2 separate regions of the Homo sapiens genome follow, and region 2 is linked to region 1. The links are contacts of gene promoters, found by promoter capture Hi-C in human tissues and cell types (Jung and others, 2019). All regions are on one chromosome and are shown on one strand. Each heading gives the region's core, a stretch centred on a gene start or on the middle of the fragment in contact. The rest is flanking DNA. Distances are from core to core; before and after follow the strand shown.

Region 1 (4,010 bases), core at 790-3,289:
ACAAAACCCAAGTCCTTTTCTGAATTTAGTGCAGGGCACAGTGAGAAGTTCAAAATAATGTACAATTTAAGATACTCAGGGAGATAAATATACACACAGCACTGGAAAGTTACAAAATAACATAAGGCAGGCAAGAAGTGATAATATTCAGGAGAATTTAGAGTAGTTAGGTAACATGAGTGGTTAGCATTGATGTAGGCTATAGGGTCTCCTAATTCTAACATTTTAACCTTATTAAATTAGACAATAGATTACATTAGACTACAGTTAGCTTGAAACAGAATTGCAGAGTTGGACTCCAGGATATTGAGAAACTACTCTAGGTACACACTTGTTTGTCTCTACTTAAACCTTTGCTTTTTAATAAAACACCAAAGCAAACTAAAAACAACAACAAAAAACCAGAGGAACGTCTCCTGTTTTGAGAACTGGAAAAGCAAAGGGGACTTTTTCTTTTTTTTGAGACATCGTATTGCAAGACACCAATAGAGGCACTTTTTTTTTTTTTCAGGCGGAGTCTCCCTCTGTTGCCCAGGCTGCAGTGCAGTGGTGTGACCTCAGCTCACTGTGAGCTCTGCCTCCTGGGTTCAAGCGATTCTCTTGTCTCAGCCTCCCCAGTAGCTGGGACTACAGATGCACGCCACCACGCCCGGCTAATTTGTGTATTTTTAGTAGAGACGGGGTTTCACCATATTGGTCAGGCTGGTCTCGAACTCCTGACCTCAGGTGATCCATCCGCCTCAGCCTCCCAAAGTGCTGGGATTACAGGTGTGAGCCACTGCGCCTGGCCCAATAGAGGCACGTTTGTCAAGCTATTGTGAGTAACTTTCAGAATGTTTTTGTTCTCAAGATACGGGATCATGGTGGGGGAGGCATGCTGTGTATTGGAGTGCAGACATGGTGTGTGTTGGGTTGCACACTGTGTATTGGGGTGCACACTGTATTGGGGTGTAGATGTGTGGGGGCGCACACTCTATTGAGGTGCACATTGCATTGGAATGCAGACAGTGTTTGCTGGGATGCACATGTGCTGTGTTGGGGTGCACACTGTACTGGGGTGCAGACATGGTGTGTGTTAGAGTGCACAGTGTATTAGGGGTGCACACTGTATTGGGGTGTACACTGTACTGGGGTGCAGACATGGTGTGTGCTGGGGTGCACACTGTATTGGAGTGCACACTGTATTGGGATGCTGATGTGGTGTGTGCTAGGGTGCATACTGTGTATTGGGGTGCAGACTGTATGCTGGGTTGCACACTGTGTATCGGGGTGCACTGTGTTGGGATGCTGATGGTGTGCTGCAGTGCACACTATTGGGGTGCAGATGTGTGTGCTGGGGTGCACACTGTATTGGGGTGCACACTGTATTGGGATGCTGATGTGTGTGCTGGGGTGCATACTGTGTATTGGGGTGCACACTTCTTGGGGTGCAGACTGTGTGTTGGGTTGCACATTGTGTATCGGGGTGCACTGTGTTGGGATGCTAACGGTGTGCTGCAGTGCACACTGTATTGGGGCGCAGATGTGTGTTTGGGGTGCACACTGTATTGGGGTGCACACTGTATTGGGGTGCTGACGTGTGTTCTGGGGTGGACACTGTGTATTAGCGTGCTGACGTGGGCTGTGCTGGGATGCACACGTGCTTCGCTAACAGGCCAGGGCCCGGCAACAGAAGCTTGCACTGTAAACGCTCCTCCCGCGCGGCGGACACAGCTCCAGGCTGGTACCGCGCGCACACGGACGCCTCGCAGGACCTGGGCTAATAAGGAGAGGAGATCGGCACGGTACCGCCTCTTCCCACGGCCTCCCGGCGCGGCACCGCCCTCCTCCCTCCACCCCGGGCCTTCCCCGCCCCAACCTCTTCGGGCCCTGGTTCTCCACCCTTGCCGCGGGCGACTCGAGCCAGGCCAAAGGGAGGCGCTACCTGAGGACTGCTTCCGGGAGTGGGCGTGGCCCCAAGGGCGTGGGCGGGGCGGGGCGGGGCCGTGCTGCTCTTGAGCGACCGGCAGCGTACCCGGCGTGGCTCCCGTCTCCGCCCAGTCGTAGGCGCTGGCCGCTGACATGTTGAGGACTACGCGCGGCCCAGGCCTGGGCCCCCCGCTGCTCCAGGCCGCGCTGGGCCTTGGGCGGGCTGGGTGGCACTGGCCTGCGGGCCGGGCGGCGAGCGGGGGGCGCGGGCGGGCCTGGCTGCAGCCCACGGGCCGGGAGACGGGTGTGCAGGTGTACAACAGCCTCACCGGGAGGAAGGAACCCCTAATCGTGGCGCACGCCGAAGCCGCCTCCTGGTGGGCCGCGCGGGACTGGGGCACGGGCGGGGGCCGATCGTGGCGGAGACTTCCCACGGCTGAACGGGATCTGGGCTCGGGGAGGGCGTTTAGGAAGCTGCATGGAGGGCGCCGTTCTAGAAGCTGGGGGTGCGCGGTGCTTTTGCAGGTTTGGGTGTGAATTGAGCAAGTATGAAAACCCCGGCTATTCATCCCCCAGAAGTGATTACTTTAAAAATTATATGATCATTATAACTCAGAATCGAATGTCCTTTCTTGCAAATATGTTCCACACGATGGATTTTAACTTTGTTTCCAGGTATAGCTGTGGACCAACTGTATATGATCATGCGCACCTTGGCCATGCTTGGTGAGTTTCCTGGATTTGAATTTTCATACTTCAAAGGACCATTTATTTTTGAAAGCCTTTTGCTGATTTCTTTTATCTCTTAAGTGGCAACTTAGGGATGCAGAATAATTCCTACATTCCAGGCATTGTGGGAAATGTTACAACCTCATTTGGTTCTTATAGGGATTCTGAGCACTTACACCCGTTTTACAGGTGAGGAAACTCAGGGAGACAATGGAGCACTGAAAAATGACCCGTTTTGGAACTAGATGTTTTTTGCTGGGTTTAGTGACATCAAGAGGCCTTTGCGGGGTCCCGGGGTCCTGCTGATCAGTCATTCCTGGGCCCCACCACTTCTTAGCTTCACAGCACTGAGCAGGTCACTTTATTGCTTTGAGTCCTGGTTTCTTCATCTTTGAGATGGGAATGATAACTTGGATCTTATAACAATTTTAGTAAATAATGCCCATAAAATGCTGCTTAACACTGTACCTCACATGTGAGATGTCACGGGGCTCAATAGTGATTGAGTAACTTTCCTAAGATGACACATTGAAGAGGTATTGGAACTGGGGTGAGGCTTGGTTTCTCTGACTGCGAAGTGGTTGCTCTCTTGACCTCTTTAACTGTAAGATGTACTGCCTCCTACATTTGCCAAAATTACCACTTTTCCTAATATTTTGTACATTTCCAAAATATAATGTACAAAAATGACATATTATAGATTTTTTAAAACTTAGTATTGTTCAGTCCTAGACTAAAAGTAAAAAGTTACATTTACTCTGTATACTTTTTTTTTTTCTTGAGACGGAGTCGCTCTGTCGCCCAGGCTGGAGTGCAGTGGTGCAATCTCGGCTCACTGCAACCTCTGCCTCCCAGGTCCAGTTGCCGCCTCCTGGCAGCAATTCTCCTGCCTCAGCCTCCGGAGTAGCTGGGATTACAGGCATGTACCACCACGCCCGGCTAATTTTTGTATTTTTAGTAGAGACGGAGTTTCACCATGTCAGCCAGGCTGGTCTCGAACTCCTGACCTCAAATGATCCACCTGCCTTGGCCTCCCAAAGTGTTGGGATTACAGGCATGAACCACCATGCCCGGCATACTCTGTATACTTTAAATATACATTTTTCCCCTTTACTTTGGGCTAACATACTTTTAATTATCAAAAGCATATTTCGACATCTTTCTTGAATTATAAAATATGTTGGGGAAATATTAAAAACAAAACCCCCACCCTGGAAAACCTTTCCACAAAGGTAGAAGAGAAAGAAAACAGTTCTGTTACTGAATAAGCCTTAAACCAGAAGGGGATGAGCTAAAATAACTGCAAAGACAGAAAGAAATCTCATCCTTCTATGGAGCTTTGGGGATACAGCCTGTCTCAGTCTATGAGTCTG
Region 2 (4,010 bases), core at 1,076-3,575, 540 kb before region 1:
ATGCCATCTTAACTAGTGCTTTCTATGGAATGCCATCTAGGCTTCTGCCCCAGTGCTAAGCAAATCACCCGCTGCACCTTCCAGGACCACACAAGGACCCCAGGAGGACAAGGCCCCAGGGCACTCCTCCCACTTTGGAAGTATCAACTACAGTGGCAACCACAGACAAAGAGATCCCTTTTGGGGATAAAGGAATGCTTGGAAAAAGTCATATAAGCTACAAAAGAATTCTAGGCATAGGGTCATTCTGGGGGAAAAACAAAAACAGAATGAATGCATGCATGCATGAGTGTATGTGAAGGTGGTGACCCACACTTCCTGGTTCAGAGTGGTTCCGGGAGAATGAATGCATGCAGGCATGAGTGTATGTGAAAGTAGTGACCTACTTCCTGGTTCAGAGTGGTTCTGGGAGAAGACGCTGCCTACAACCAGCCGTGGATCCCAGAAGCACTAACTACAATGCCTAAGCAAAAACAGACTTGCTAAGTAACTTTTATAAACACCTCCACAAAATTACCACTGAATGATTATAAGTCAGTGGCTTTTAAGGTAACGGATATTTATTTAACACGGAAAAGAATCTCGACAAAATTCAATATCCTCCTTTCTGGAGTCTCTGTGTCCTCCTGCCCTCTGCCCCACCCAGACCACTCATCACAGAGCATACGGTTCCTTTTACAGAAGAGTGCCGACTATGATACTGCCAAGCTTCAAATCCATCAGCGGCTTCCAACTACTCTTGACAGTCACCTAAGATCCAATCAAAGTCTCCAGGACCTGATCTCGCCTGCCCGTCCGGGCTCCTACTGTTCCACTCCTCTCCATTCACAGGCTCCAGCCACAGCCAATGCCCACCTCAGGGTGCTCTCTCTCCTGTGATATCAGATAAACTGTCCCTGGCTCCCAAAGCCCCTGGAATTTTCTGAGTGACAGAAGTGTCTTTTGTTACCCATCATGAACCCCTTTCCGTCATACCCGAGTCTATGCTAACGAGGTAACTCTGGGTCGGCCCCTAGACAGCTTACAGGATGGGGGCTAGGTGTCACAAAGACCACCATGATCACAGGAACTTTCAGCCCCAACCAGCAACCTAAAGGGAGGACAAGGGGCTGGAGATCATGCCACTCAGCAATGTCCAGTGATCTAGTCAATCATGCATGTCTACCTAACAGAGCCTACATTAGAAACCACCAAGGACAGGGCTTGGAGAGATTTTGGGTTGCTGAAAGCACGGAGGTGCTGCACCCAGAGGGCCTAGAAACTCTGCTCCCATCCCTTACCCTACATCTTTCTTCTATCCATCTCATTCTGAGTTGCATCCTTCATAATAAACTGGTACCAGGAAGTCAAGCACTCTCCTGAGTTACATACATGGGTCATTCCAGCAAATTATCAAACCTGAAGGGAGTCATGGGAACCCTCAAATCTGTACTCAGTCAGGTAGGAGTATATAGCTTGGGCACCCCATTTGCAGCTGGGTTTGAAATGTGGCAGTCTCGTGGGAGACAAATGTCCGAATAGAACTGAACCACTGGAAACTCAGTGTCAGACAATTGACGAAGTGCTGGTGTGAGGAAAAACCTCCTCTCGTTTTTTGCCTGGTTACCTCCCATTTACCCCTCAGTGCTCAGTGATCTTCCCCTGAAGTTTGCTCTTGGTGCCTGATATGATTTCTTTCGTAAGAAGGTCTGCAATTGTAGCTTTCTAACTATTTATACAATTTTCAATTATCTGTCTCCCTCACCAGACTATAAGCTCCACCAGGACAGGCTCTATCAGCAGCCAGCCAGCATCACGCACGTGGTGGCAGCGTGTGCACAAGCGCCGAATGCACGCATACCTGAGAAAGCTGCTCTAGGCAAACTGGGCACATTCCAGCTATCACAACCTCACAACACAAATGACAGTGTGCCGCTACTAATGCAGCAAATGGCACAAGGGCATGGAAGGCAGATTGCAGTTTCTATTGTTTTGAACTGAAAGCCTAGACAAAGCATGCTTGCAAGGAGCCCTCTACAGCTGATGAAAGGAAGAACTGTGATTTGAAAAACTAAAAGGAAATGGGTTCTATAAATCTGGCTATAGCCAAATTACTCCTATCAAACTGACTCGCCTGCAAATAACATCGAAACTTTAAAAAACATATAGAAAGTAACTGCCTAGAGGCACTCAAAAGTAGCATGAAAGATAACAGAATCTTGGGACCCAAACTCACTATGCCAGTGGGAAAGTGAAGCTTGGGAACTGAACTGTGCAACACTGTCTGCCTTTTGTTGCCGAACAGAGAGCTGTCATTCCACAACCCTGTGTCATGGCCTCATCCATACGCCAGGTGCCCACAACTACAGAAGGCCACATAGCTCCCCAGATGGCCTTCCTCACAAAGTGCTCACAAGGAGATTTCTTGTGAGCCCCTAAATCTATCAGAACATATGTCCCCCACTAAAAACTAGCCCTAAAACCGAGTTCTATTGTATCTCACCCTGGCAATGTCAAGTACCAGCTTATCTTCATAGGTACAGACAAGGACAAGAGCAGAAATCACCCTTCCCGTGAAAGAGAACCCTGAGAAAAACGCACAACTGACTTTCCTCTACTCCCCCTTTCCCGTGTAAAATGCAGGCTTACTGAGGCCAATCGGAGGCTCACAACAATGTTTAAGCATCTGCCTCACTGCTCCCCAGCCTCCCTTTTTTCCCCTCCTGCTTGTTCTTTCCCCTTTAAATACTGAACTTCTCAAAGCTTTGGAAAAAGCACAAATGCTCCTGTTACCTGGCACGTCCTCAACTGCAGCTACGTAAACCTCTATCGATTGAGACCTGCCTGAATCACTTTTTAGTTAGCATCAGGTATATTCTGGGGAAGGATGGACATTTGGAAAAAAGAACGGGCAGGGCACCTCCTGCTTTCTCAACTATTAAGCTAATGGCAGCCAACTTTGTTATGTGGAACAGCTAAAACTCCAACAAAAATCCACAGGGTTTGGTTCTACCAGAGTTGCTGGGAAGCTGGGGGAAACCCACGGTGAGTGTGACCCTGAATTCTGTCTCTAAATTCTGCCCAAATCTCTGGCTGACGGCAGAACAGAACTTGCAAGGCCAACTTCAGATCAGCTGAGTCTAAAATAAGTGGACTGAGATTTGAGCATCTGCCAAAGGGAGAGTTGGCAATTTGAGCCTGACCAAGTTAACTGCCTGTCAAACAAGCAAATCAATACTCTTCAGGGAAACCTAACATGATCAAGAGTCTACAACCCACAGTAAACAGGACACAATTCAAAGTCACTAGAAATAAAAAGAATCATGAAGACGTAACCCATCCTCACAATAAAGAATCAGCAGATGGGACCTTAAAGCAGTTATTCTAATTATTGCTAAAGGATATAAAGAAAAATATTCTTGTAGTGAATGAACAAATATAAAATCTTAGCAGAGAACTAAACACTTTTTTTAAGCGAAACAAATTCTAGAACTGAAAAAAATTCTCAAACTAAAAACTTGTTGCACGGGGACGAACAAGAGAGTAGAGAGGCAGACAGTGAACACTTAGGACACAGCAGACGCCATTCAACCTGAAGAACAGAGCAGAGACCAGGTCAGAAAGCAACGAGCAAATCCAGGACCTCCAGCAAAAGGTCTACATGGGTGTAACTGGAGCCCCAAGGCAGAGTAGAAACAGTAAAGCAGCAAAATATTTGAAGAAATAATGCCCGCAAATTCCCCACATTTGGTAAAAGACATAAATTTTCAAGTTCGAGAAGTCAGAAAACCACACCCGAGATAATCACCGTCAAAATGCCAAAAACCTAAAATAAAGGCAAAAATCTAGGAAGCGGACGGGGAACAACTATCTGAAATTGTGCTGATCAGAATATAATGGAGGTCATCATCAGATACAATCAACAGATACAGTGAAGGCCAAAAGACAGTGGAGCAATATCCTTCAAATGCTGAAACAACAAATCTGTTACCCAGAGTTCAGTATCCATGGGAAAAAAAAAAATCTTCAGG

Evidence for each region. The method cuts DNA at HindIII sites, captures the fragments that hold promoters and counts their contacts. A contact is called where the count stands out against the background at its distance.
Region 2: a contact is called between a fragment that was not itself captured here and the fragment with the promoter of CARS2 in region 1, in 1 of the 25 tissues and cell types used here (dorsolateral prefrontal cortex).

The regions. Positions count from the first base shown.
Region 1 is chr13:110,704,145-110,708,154 of GRCh38, reverse strand. It overlaps CARS2 (cysteinyl-tRNA synthetase 2, mitochondrial), which reads left to right and starts at 2,039. Exons shown (of 15, transcript NM_024537.4): 1 at 2,039-2,285; 2 at 2,584-2,634. The coding sequence starts at 2,062. RefSeq lists enhancers at 1,112-1,231, 1,242-1,621 and a silencer at 1,672-2,231. The HindIII fragment of the contact is 14,015 bases long and covers 1-4,010 here.
Region 2 is chr13:111,248,138-111,252,147 of GRCh38, reverse strand. All of the region lies in intron 8 of ARHGEF7 (Rho guanine nucleotide exchange factor 7), which reads right to left. Among named protein-coding and RNA genes, the nearest start is that of TEX29, 70 kb to the left of the region's middle. The HindIII fragment of the contact is 4,062 bases long and covers 295-4,010 here.